3 separate regions of the Homo sapiens genome follow, and regions 1 and 3 are each linked to region 2. The links are contacts of gene promoters, found by promoter capture Hi-C in human tissues and cell types (Jung and others, 2019). All regions are on one chromosome and are shown on one strand. The core of a region is centred on a gene start or on the middle of the fragment in contact, and the rest is flanking DNA. Distances in the headings are between cores, read along the strand shown. Region 1 has its middle 4.4 kb from the start of MIR4520-1. Region 2 holds the start of SLC13A5 (solute carrier family 13 member 5). Region 3 holds the start of FBXO39 (F-box protein 39).

Region 1 (3,484 bases), core at 528-3,027, 53 kb before region 2:
TCAAACCCTTTGCCCCATTCTGTCCTGAAGGCTGGCCGACCTCACTATCAAAAACTAAATGTTCTGACGCTGGGCATGGTGGCTCACGCCTATAATCCCAGCACTTTGGGAGACTGAGGCGGGCAGATCACGAGGTCAAGAGATCGAGACCATCCTGGCCAATATGGTGAAACCCTGTCTCTACTAAAAATACAAAAATTAGCTGGGCGTGGTGGCACGCGCCTGTAGTCCCAGTTACTTGGGTGGCTAAGGCACAAGAATTGCTTGAACCCAGGAGGTGGAGGTTGCAATGAGCCAAGATTGCACCACTGCACTCCAGCCTGGTGACAGAGTGAGACTCCATCTCAAAAATAAAATAATGTTCCGACTTGCTAGAATGATCTGAATGACTTCAACCAGATTTTCTGCTGTGGCCAGAGCAAGCTGGCTGGTCAGTCCCCCACCCCAATATGTCTCCCAGGACGCTTACCCCCAGATCCCACCCAACCCAGGGGAATTGAAAGAAGCAGGGTGGGGAGACCAGAGACTTGGGTCCCTCTGGTGGGCTGGAGTCAAGGGGGCATGGTTGGTGGGGTTGGAAGGACCAAGAGCTCAGATCCCACAACTTGCTCAACAACTGCCTTCCCCAGAGCGCGTGCGGGACTCCTGGAAGGAAGATGCCTTATTTGGGTACCAGTTTCTTAATGGCGCCAACCCCGTGGTGCTGAGGCGCTCTGCTCACCTTCCTGCTCGCCTAGTGTTCCCTCCAGGCATGGAGGAACTGCAGGCCCAGCTGGAGAAGGAGCTGGAGGTATGGACATCAGAGCCCTGAGGAAGCTCAGCAGTGAAGTGGGGTGGCCTAGTGCCAATGATGCTGCTGCGGGACCCACTGTGGGCCTGGCTTGCTGCCAGCCAGCAAGGACGGATTCTGCAGGAGAGGTCCTGAGGGACCCTGGAGAAGCTCAGCTGCTCGGCCTCCTTCCCACACGAGAGTAGCTGTGGAGGGAGGGCGTGCAAGATGGAATGGTTGATAGAAACAGGGTCAAATGAAGAAATGTGACTGGCCCCTGGTGCTAGGGATTCGGGGAGTGTGCAGAGTAAGAGAGTCAGGATCAGAGTGCTGTGGCTGTTCATCAGGAGGCGATATGGAACAACAGAGAGGAAATTCATGGGATTAAGGGCAGATAGGCTTGGATGTGAATCCTGGTTCTGCTATTTGTAAGCTGTGTGACCTCAGGCAAAATACCCAGCCTCTCTGATTATCTGTTTCCTCTTCTGTGCAACTGAGGCTCGTTCAACTAGGTATAAAAATTATAAGGCTGGGCACAGTGGCTTGCACCTGTAATTCCAGCACTTTGGGAGGTCGAGGCAGGAGGATCACCTGAGCCCAATAGTTGGAGACCAGCCTAGGCAACGTGGTGAAACCCTGCCTCTACAAAAATACAAAAATTAGCACCTGTAACTTTTGGTGTAGTGGCATGCACCTGTAGTCCCAGCTATTTGGGAGGCTGAGGTGGGAGGATCACCTGGGCCCAAGGAAGTCAAGGCTGCAGTGAGCCATGGTGGTCCCGCCATGGCACTCCAGCCTGGGCAACAGAGTAATACCCTGGCTCAAAAAATAAACAATGATATGAGGCAATAAGCACATGATCCATTACCTGGTACAAAGTAGGTGATGGAGACAAGTTAGCTTCTCTCTCTCTCTCTCTCTCTCTCTCTCTCTCTCTCTCCTCTCTCTCTCTCTCTTCCCCCTTGGAGGAATCCGAGTGGGAAGAAGATGCTTTATGTTGATAGCAGCCTTTGACCTCTTCCTGCACCCAGGGAGGCACATTGTTCGAAGCTGACTTCTCCCTGCTGGATGGGATCAAGGCCAACGTCAGTCTCTGTAGCCAGCAGCACCTGGCTGCCCCTCTGGTCATGCTGAAACTGCAGCCTGATGGGAAACTCTTGCCCATGGTCATCCAGGTGAGAGGACTCAGGATTTCTGCTCCCAGTCTCCAGCCTTCTCAGCTCAGCCCCTTATCGAAATGCACTAAGCACCATCTTCAAAGGCGCTGGGCTAAGGCACCAGGGAGACGCGAAAGGAGGAAATGCGCCAAGTCTCTATTCGAAGGCCTTGCAATGTAGCTGGAGAGACACATAGGGCTAGTCTGCAGAAGCTCCGGGACTGAGGAAGTCCCGGAGGACAGAGACAGCCCAGGAGGGATCGGGGAGTTGGGATGTCACCAGCCTTGGAGGAGGGCCAGGTCTCAGACAAGCAGGAGGGAGAGGAAGGACCAGTCCTCAGGGGCAAGACAGACTGGGCAGAGGCTAAGGTAGAGGAGTCAGGAGATTCCTAGGGGACAGTTGGACTGGGGCCAGACTAAGCCAGGCTAAGGAGCATGAAGTGGGAAGCTGGAGAAGGCTGTGATGAAACATGCTATAGGCACGCGGTGTGGGCAGTGGTGTTTAGGGTGGGTTGGAGAGGGGAGATGCTAGAAACAGGGACTGGGGCAACATGCCCCAGCACTGACCCCAGGAGGAGGGGAGCTCGGATATGGGTAGTGACCGTCGGGATGGAGAGGACCGGTGGATGCGAGTGCAGAGGGAGATGAAGGAGAGGGGAAAGGGGAGCCAGGCCAGGTGCCTGCAGAAATAGCACCAATAAAGAGAACAGGGTGCCCAGGTAGACTTTTGTCTGGCCAATGTTGAGGTAACGGGAAGACATTTAAATTGTCCAGCAGGCAGCTGAGAACAAGAGATTCAGTCATTTGTGTAGAGGTGGGGCCAAAAGATGAGATTTCGAAAAACAGTGTGGGATGGAGGAAGCAGGTGGTTTGAATCTTGTCCACAATGCGGGGACTGAAAGGGGAAGTGGAGGCTGGAGGAGGCACCAGAAGAGCAGTTTCTGCAGAATGCTGGAGGCAAAGCAGCTTGCAGGGTGCTAATGCACTGAGCTGGTAGGAAGGGGAGGGGAGGAAATGGGAGCTGTAGGGAGAGGCAGGAGTGGGATGGGGAAAGCAGAACAGGTTTGGAGGACGAGGTTAACATGCAAGGGGGGCGGGAATCGCTGAGTGCCGGGCACTCATGCCTTCTCTCCCCACACTTGTCCCTGCTCCAGCTCCAGCTGCCCAGCACAGGATCCCCACCACCTCCCCTTTTCCTGCCCACGGATCCCCCAGTGGTCTGGCTTCTGGCCCAATGCTGGGTGCGCAGCTCTGACTTCCAGCTCCGTGAGCTGCAGTCTCATCTTCTGAGGGGACACTTGATGGCTCAGGTCATTGTTGTGGCCACCATGAGGTGCCTGCCGTCGATACATCCTATCTTCAAGGTAACACCTTATCCCCTTCTCTCCTGTATTCAGCTGAATACTTGATGGGGACCTTTGTTTCTCTAGAGTTCTCTTTCTGTACAACACCCTCAATTTCAGCATGCTGCCCTGTGAATTCTGGCTGTATTGGCCTCCCAGTACTGCCAGCTCTCTCTGTCCCCTTAACTCAGGAAGATGATAGGACTCTGCCAGGGT
Region 2 (3,370 bases), core at 353-2,852:
TACTATAATCATTCCAGGGAACATCACTCCCTACCAGCAGAGCTGAAATCGCAGCTCTCCTGCCTGGCTACTTCCCCTGGACAATAACAACCCCAGACTTCTTGCTACAGAGGAAGTGTGGCTGCCCACAGTTGGTGTGGCAACTGCACAGCCTCCACAGTTGGATCTGCTGTCCTTGACCCATCCAGGGCCTGTGCTAGGCCCACCCAAGGGCTCCTCCCAGTCTCCCCCTCCCCCATCCTAGGAACTAACGTTAATCCCTTTTGATTCCCAAAGCCTTAAAGTGTCAGAACCAAACCACCTAGCCCCATTGTACAGATGAGAACACCAAGGCCCAGAGAGCACAGGCACTTGGCTAAAGTCACACAGATGACAGAATGGTGGAAGTCCAGTTCTCTTGCAGGTTGGCTTCCTGACACCCCAGTGCACTCCCTTCCTCTAGAGCTCCCCCCCAGAGCATCCCCTGAAGAGCTCCTCTGTTTCCCAAACCTGCCTGGGGAGGGGAGGTGGGGAGCTGGAGGTTTCCTGTCTGGGCTGAGAGTGAAAGGGCTGAAAGAAGGAACGAGGAAGGAGCAGCCAGCAGCCACAAAAGGCTTCAAAGGGCTTGGGCCTCCGCCAAACTGGCTGTGCACAGCCCAGTGGAGCCTGCGCCCACCCTGCGGCCAAGGCCATTCATTCTCTCTCTCCCTCACAGAAGCATTAGGAGACTAGGGCCTGGGAGGAAGCTTCCCTGCAACTCCAGGTCCTGCCACCCAAGGCGCGAGCTCTGGGAATGTGTCCCGCCTCCTGCTACAGCCCCAGCAGGCAGGAGGCAAAGCAGGCCAACCCCAACCTGCCTGCAGCCTGGAGCAGGATTATGAATCAGATGTGGCTCTCCAGGTTGGAAGGAATGTGGATCATAGATAGAGACACTAAGGCCCAAGGAAGGGCCAGAGAGTGGCAAAGACAGCGCAGGATCCACGTGGGTGATGATTTTTTTCCTGTAGGTCCCTCCTGACGGCAGAAGCCACCTACAGCTTGAAGTCTTCTTTGGCGAAGGGAAAAGACAGGAGAGAGAGAGGGAAAGGCAAGCTCCCAGGTTCCCTGTTGGCGCAGGTGGCATTTTGGGGGGAAACAGGGTTATGCACTGTGGGAGATTCGATTCGGAGCCAGGGGCTGAGCCTAAGGCTGGGATCTGTGTGGCTGAGATCTGTGCTCACTTCGAGGTTTCCGTGCTTGCCTGGACGGCTCTTGCGCCCTGGGATCTGTAAACCCCAAGGGTGGTGCGCCCTGGGGTCGCCATGCCCCTCAGATTCTTTACAGGGCACCTCCCATCCGGCACCTGGAGCTCCTGAGTGCGCGCGCCCCGGGAGAGCTGTGCTCCCCGCGAAATCCGTGCGCTCCAGCTCAGGGCTCCCGGGATCGGTGCCCGTTAGTGGGCACAGGACGCCGGGTGTCCGAAGGGCTGCCTGGAGATGCAACTGACCTTGGCGGGCATCAGAATGACGAGTGGCAGCAGCAGGAGCGGGGTGACGAACAAGATCACGAAGGACTTGAACTTGGAGACATAGCTCAGCGCCGAGGCCATCGCGCGGGAGGGAGACTGGCGGGCGAGACGAGTGAGGGGCAGCTAGAGGCGCCGCGGGCTTAAGAAGGGGCCACAGTCCCCGGGGATTGGGGAGGGGGCGGTGACAACTCCGCCCCGCACGGGGGCGCCTCCCCGCGGCCCTGGGGCGGGGCCACCCCTCGGGGTCTGTGGGACGCGCCTGCCCCCAATTCTGCCACCCGGCGGCGGTGGGAGGCGTCTTTGGACTCCAACGCTTCGGGCCAGCCCTCTAGGGGCAGCCTGGGCCCTAGCATCTCGCGCTGTCCAAGCCTCTCCTGCGCTGCCGAGGCAGAGGTGCGTCCCGGGGCTGCCAAGCGGGGCGTGTTTTGGTCACTGGTGCTGCCCGCTTTGGCGTAAGGCGCCCTCCCGCGTCCGCATCTGCTCTTTCCTGGGCTCTGAAGGGTCCCGGATGAAACTCTCTGCAGGCCTCTGGGTCTCTCAGGTCTATCTCCCCGATCTCCCTCTCCTTTCCATCTCCTTACTTCCGCCCCTCCGGTGTCTCTCCGAGAGGTGTCCCCCCACGCCCCGCGCCCTCCGCACCGCGGGCCTCGCTTCCCGGTCCCCCCTGGCTTCCTCGCCACGTCCGCCCCACTCTAGGTGCAGGACCCCTTTTCCCCGCTCGCACTCTCCGGCCCGGAGCTCCTGGGCGATCGCACAGGGAAGCGAGGCCACTGTCCTCCTCTGTCCCAGGGGCTGTCGCGCTCCAGTGGACGCTGCACCCCGCAGACGCCCGGCGGGCAGATGCGGACACGCGTCTTGGAGGGGCCCCACCGAGCCTCAGCAGCCGCAGCTGCCCGCCCGACCCAGGTCAGAGGGAAACGGAGCTCTAGAGAGGAAGGGACACAACTAAGGCGACACTGAGACAGTCGCCCATGTATTCATTCAGCCCGCCAGGCAACAGACAGGTGCCGAGCACCTCTTCTCCGCGAGGCCCTGTTTTGGGCACTGGAGACACACGGATGCAAAGACATCCCCACCTCTGTGATTTTCTTCTTTCCTCTCCTCTGCCTGCCTCTCATTCTGCAGCTTCCTTTTGGGGAGTCTCATCCATGCTGGTGGCCTAACCACAGCCGGCTCCTTAGTGATTACCATCCTCTGCCTTCAACCCAGCCATGATGCCAGAGTCCCAGATGTCCAGCCTTCCGCAGACTGGACGTGTCTCGGCCCGAAAATTCAACACATCCTGAATCAAGCTCATGAGTTCCTTCCTGTGACCTGCACCCAAGGACATGCATTCTCCCAAGCCCCTCCTGCAATTGCCTCCCTCCTGTCCTTTTCCCTTTGTAACTCTCATGCATATAGCCCTGGGTTTTCCCGCCTTTCCTGTGTCCCCAGGGCACTTAGCACAATTTGTACCTCTTATATTTATTGGTGTAATTTTTACTTTTTACTTTTTTATTTTTTAAGTGTTATTTCATTTTTAATTGACAAATCATTGTCTATATTTACGGGGTACCATGTGATTTTTCAATGTGTGTATAATTGTGGTGTGTTCAAATCAGGCTAATGAGCATATTTATCACTCGAATATTTATCATTTCTCTTGTTTTTGTTTTTTGTTTGTTTGTTTGAGACAGAGTTGTGCTCCTGTCACCCAGGCTGGAGTGCAGTGGCACGATCTCGGCTCACTGCAACCTCTGCCACCTAGGTTCAAGCAAATCTCCTGCTTCAGCCTCCCAAGTAGCTGGGATTACAGGTGTGCACCACCACGCCCGGCTAATTTTTTGCATTTTTAGTAGAAATGGGGTTTCACCATGTTAGCCAGGCTGGTCTCGAACTCCTGAC
Region 3 (3,281 bases), core at 734-3,233, 63 kb after region 2:
GGAACAGAATAGAGGGCCCAGAAATAAAGCTACACACCTACAACCATCTAATCTTTGACAAAGTTGACAAAAATACGCAATGGGGAAAGAATTCCCCATTCAGTAAGTGGTACTGGGATAACTAGCTAGCCATATGCAGAGGATTGAAACTGAACCACTTCCTTACACCATATGCAAAAATCAACTCAAGATGGATTAAAGACTTAAATGTAAAACCCCAAACTATAAAAACTCTGGAAGATAACCTAGGCAATACCATTCTGGACATAGGAACGGAAAAAGATTTCATGACAAAGATCCCAAAAATAATTGTAACGAAAGCAAAAATTGACAAATGGGACATGATTAAACAGAATTACCATTTGACTCAGCAATCCCATTATTGGTTATATACCCAAAGGAATCTAAATCATTCTGTCATAAAGACATATATACACAAATGTTCACGGCAGCACTATACACAATCGCAAAGTCAGGGAATCAAACTAAATGTCCATCAGTGGTAGAAAGGATAAAGAAAATGTGGTGGCAGGGAGTGGTGGCTCATGTCTGTAATCCCAGCACTTTGGGAGGCTGAGGCGGGTGGTTCACCTGAGGTCAGGAGTTTGAGACCAGCCTGGCCAACATGGAGAAACTCCGTCTCCGCTAAAAATACGAAAATTAGCCAGGCGTGGTGGCGAGCACCTGTCATCCCAGCTACTTGGGAGGCCTAGGCGTGAGAATCGCTTGAACCTGGAAGGTGGTGGTTGCAGTGAGCCGAGATCCTGCCACTGCACTCCAGCCTGGGCAACCAAGCGAGACTCTGCCTTAAAAAAAAAAAAAAGAAAATGTGGCACATATACACCATGGAATACTATGCAGCCATAAAAAAGAATGGGATCATGTCCTGTGCAGCAACGTGGATGGAGCTGGAAGCCATTATCCTAAATGAACTCACTCAGAAACAGAAAACCAAATACCACATGTTCTCACTTATAAGTAGAAGCTAAACATTGAGTACACATGGATACAAAGAAGGGAACCGCAGACACTGGGGCCTACCTGAGGTCGGAGCATGGAAGGAGGGTGAGGATCAAAAAACTACCTATCTGGTACTATGCTTTTTATCTGGATGATGAAATAATCTGTACAACAAACCCTGGTGACATGCAATTTACCTATATAGCAAGCCTACACATGTGCCCCTGAACCTAAAAAAAAAGTTAAAAGAAAAACGTTTGGATTATTTTCCCTCTTTCGAACAAAGACATTGGTTTGCCCAAGGACTACAAATAAACCAACGGGAAAAAAGAAAGGTTCCAGTTTTGTCTGAAAATTCTGATTAAGCCTCTGGGCCCTACAGCCTGGAGAACCTGGAGAATCCTACACCCACAGAACCCGGCTTTGTCCCCAAAGAATAAAAACACCTCTCTAAAAGCTGCTCTTCCACCTTTCTTTGGGTTCCGCACTGGTTTTCCAGGGCCAGGAATGGCAGCAGCCAGGACCCCAGGATAAGGGCAGTGCCCAAGGAAAGGGGAGCAGAAGACATTCAGGGAGGGGGAAAGAAATGAGGCTGGGACAGTGGATAAGGGCCAGGTGAAGGGGAGAGGGGCGGCTTCTGAAGGCTTTGGGCAGGGAGAGTGGCTGGGGGAAGCCTAGTAATGCAACCTATCCAGCGGCGGCTTCGGAAAAAACCCGGGGCTGGGTCAGGATGGGAAAGGCAGCGAACTGAACCGTTTTGAGCCCCAAGTTCGGGGCCGAATGTCTTCCCTGTGCGCAGAAGCAAGGGCGGGGGCGTGCCATCCTCACCCGGAGCGCCGGCCGAGCCTCCCGCCTCCCAACGCCTGGCCAGGGCCCCGTCTCGCCCTCTGCACATGGGATCCACTGACCAGGCAACTGCAGGTTTGGGGCTCTGCGACCCGGGGGCAGGAACAGAGCCTTGCAGGCGGCAGCGCGTCACAAAGGCGGCCGGAGCTTGGCATTTAGCTTGGGCCAGAGCAAGGCGCAGACCCGGGGCGCCCATGGAGTTGGCGTCGGAGCAACAGCTGCGCGGGCGGAGCAGGTAGGCGCGCTCCAGTCCCTGCAGCCCGAGCGGGGTTCAGCGAACGGGTAACGGGAGAATGCGGGCCGGAGCAGGCTGGGGTGGCGGTGGGATGCCCCGAGGCCCGCGGCGGGGAGGCGGGCTGCTCTCATCACCCCCTCTGGGAAGCATCTTTGGCTGCAGGAGTTGCCAGGCCAACTCCCCCTCCCGCGGTGGGTAGGACATCTTTAGATTTCCCTCCCTGGTTGGCAGCTGTGTGATATGGTGGACCAACCCTGGGTTCGAATCCTATCTCCCCACTTACTACACGTTCTCCCTGGGAAACTTTATTCACCTTCCAACACCTCCGTTTCCGTATTTGTGAAATGGATGTGTTTGTATTCCTATCTTCCTTGGCGGGACGTTGCAGAAGTACCTCGGCACCAACTTTCTTATTAATGGCAGCCAGCTCTTGTATAGCGTTTACTACGTGGCAGGCACTCACTGTTCCCGGTGCTTTCCAGGTATCAGCTCACTTAATCCTCCCAACACTAAGAGAAAGGCACTATTATTACCCCATATACAGATGTGAGGATTCACACATAAAGAAATTGACTTGCCTAAGGTCATCCGACTGTAATGGGCATAGCTAGGATGCAGCCCACTAAGCTACACTGCCTCTGATGGGGTCTCGGGGGGTAAGGGGAGGCTCCCAGTCATTAAATAGAATTTGGAGTCTCCTTACAGCAACTCTTCCAGACACACATATTCTTCCAACCCCACCCTTACAGCACCAGTGTCTGATGACTTTTCCTGACCTACAACCTTGCTAGGCCAAAAGGTTTCATGGAGCTTTTATTTACTTATTTATTTTATTATACTTTAAGTTCTGGGATACATGTGCAGAACATGCAGGTTTGTTACATAGGTATACATGTGCCATGGTGGTTTGCTGCACCCATCAACCTGTCATCTAGAATTTAAGCCCCGCATGCATTAGGTATTTGTCCTAATGCTCTCCCTCCCCTTGCCCGCCACCCCCCGACAGGCCCCATTGTGTGATGTTCCTCTCCCTGTGTCCATGTGTTCTCATTGTTCAACTCCCACTTATGAGTGAGAACATGCAGTGTTTGATTTCCTGTTCCTGCGTTAGTTTGCTGAGAATGATGGTTTCCAGCTTCATCCATGTCCCTGCAAAGGACATGAACTCATTCTTTTTTATGGCTGCATAGTATTTCATGGTGTATATGTGCCACATTTTCTTAATCCTGTCGATCATTGA

Evidence for each region. Contacts are between HindIII fragments. The study calls those that stand out against the background at their distance.
Region 1: a fragment that was not itself captured here is called in contact with the fragment with the promoter of SLC13A5 in region 2 in 6 of the 25 tissues and cell types used here (liver, mesendoderm cells, ovary and 3 more).
Region 3: the fragment with the promoter of FBXO39 here is called in contact with the fragment with the promoter of SLC13A5 in region 2 in 2 of the 25 tissues and cell types used here (mesendoderm cells and thymus).

The regions. Positions count from the first base shown.
Region 1 is chr17:6,658,125-6,661,608 of GRCh38, forward strand. It overlaps the pseudogene ALOX15P1. Among named protein-coding and RNA genes, the nearest start is that of MIR4520-1, 4.4 kb to the left of the region's middle. The HindIII fragment of the contact is 8,121 bases long and covers 1-3,484 here.
Region 2 is chr17:6,711,767-6,715,136 of GRCh38, forward strand. SLC13A5 (solute carrier family 13 member 5) reads right to left here and starts at 1,603. Exons shown (of 12, transcript NM_177550.5): 1 at 1,466-1,603. The coding sequence starts at 1,567. The HindIII fragment of the contact is 16,548 bases long and covers 1-3,370 here.
Region 3 is chr17:6,774,232-6,777,512 of GRCh38, forward strand. It overlaps FBXO39 (F-box protein 39), which reads left to right and starts at 1,984. Exons shown (of 4, transcript NM_153230.3): 1 at 1,984-2,041. XAF1 (XIAP associated factor 1) reads left to right here. Exons shown (of 7, transcript NM_017523.5): 7 at 1-1,416. It overlaps LOC124903905 (a long non-coding RNA gene), which reads right to left and starts at 1,879. Exons shown (of 3, transcript XR_007065594.1): 1 at 1,789-1,879. The HindIII fragment of the contact is 13,622 bases long and covers 1-3,281 here.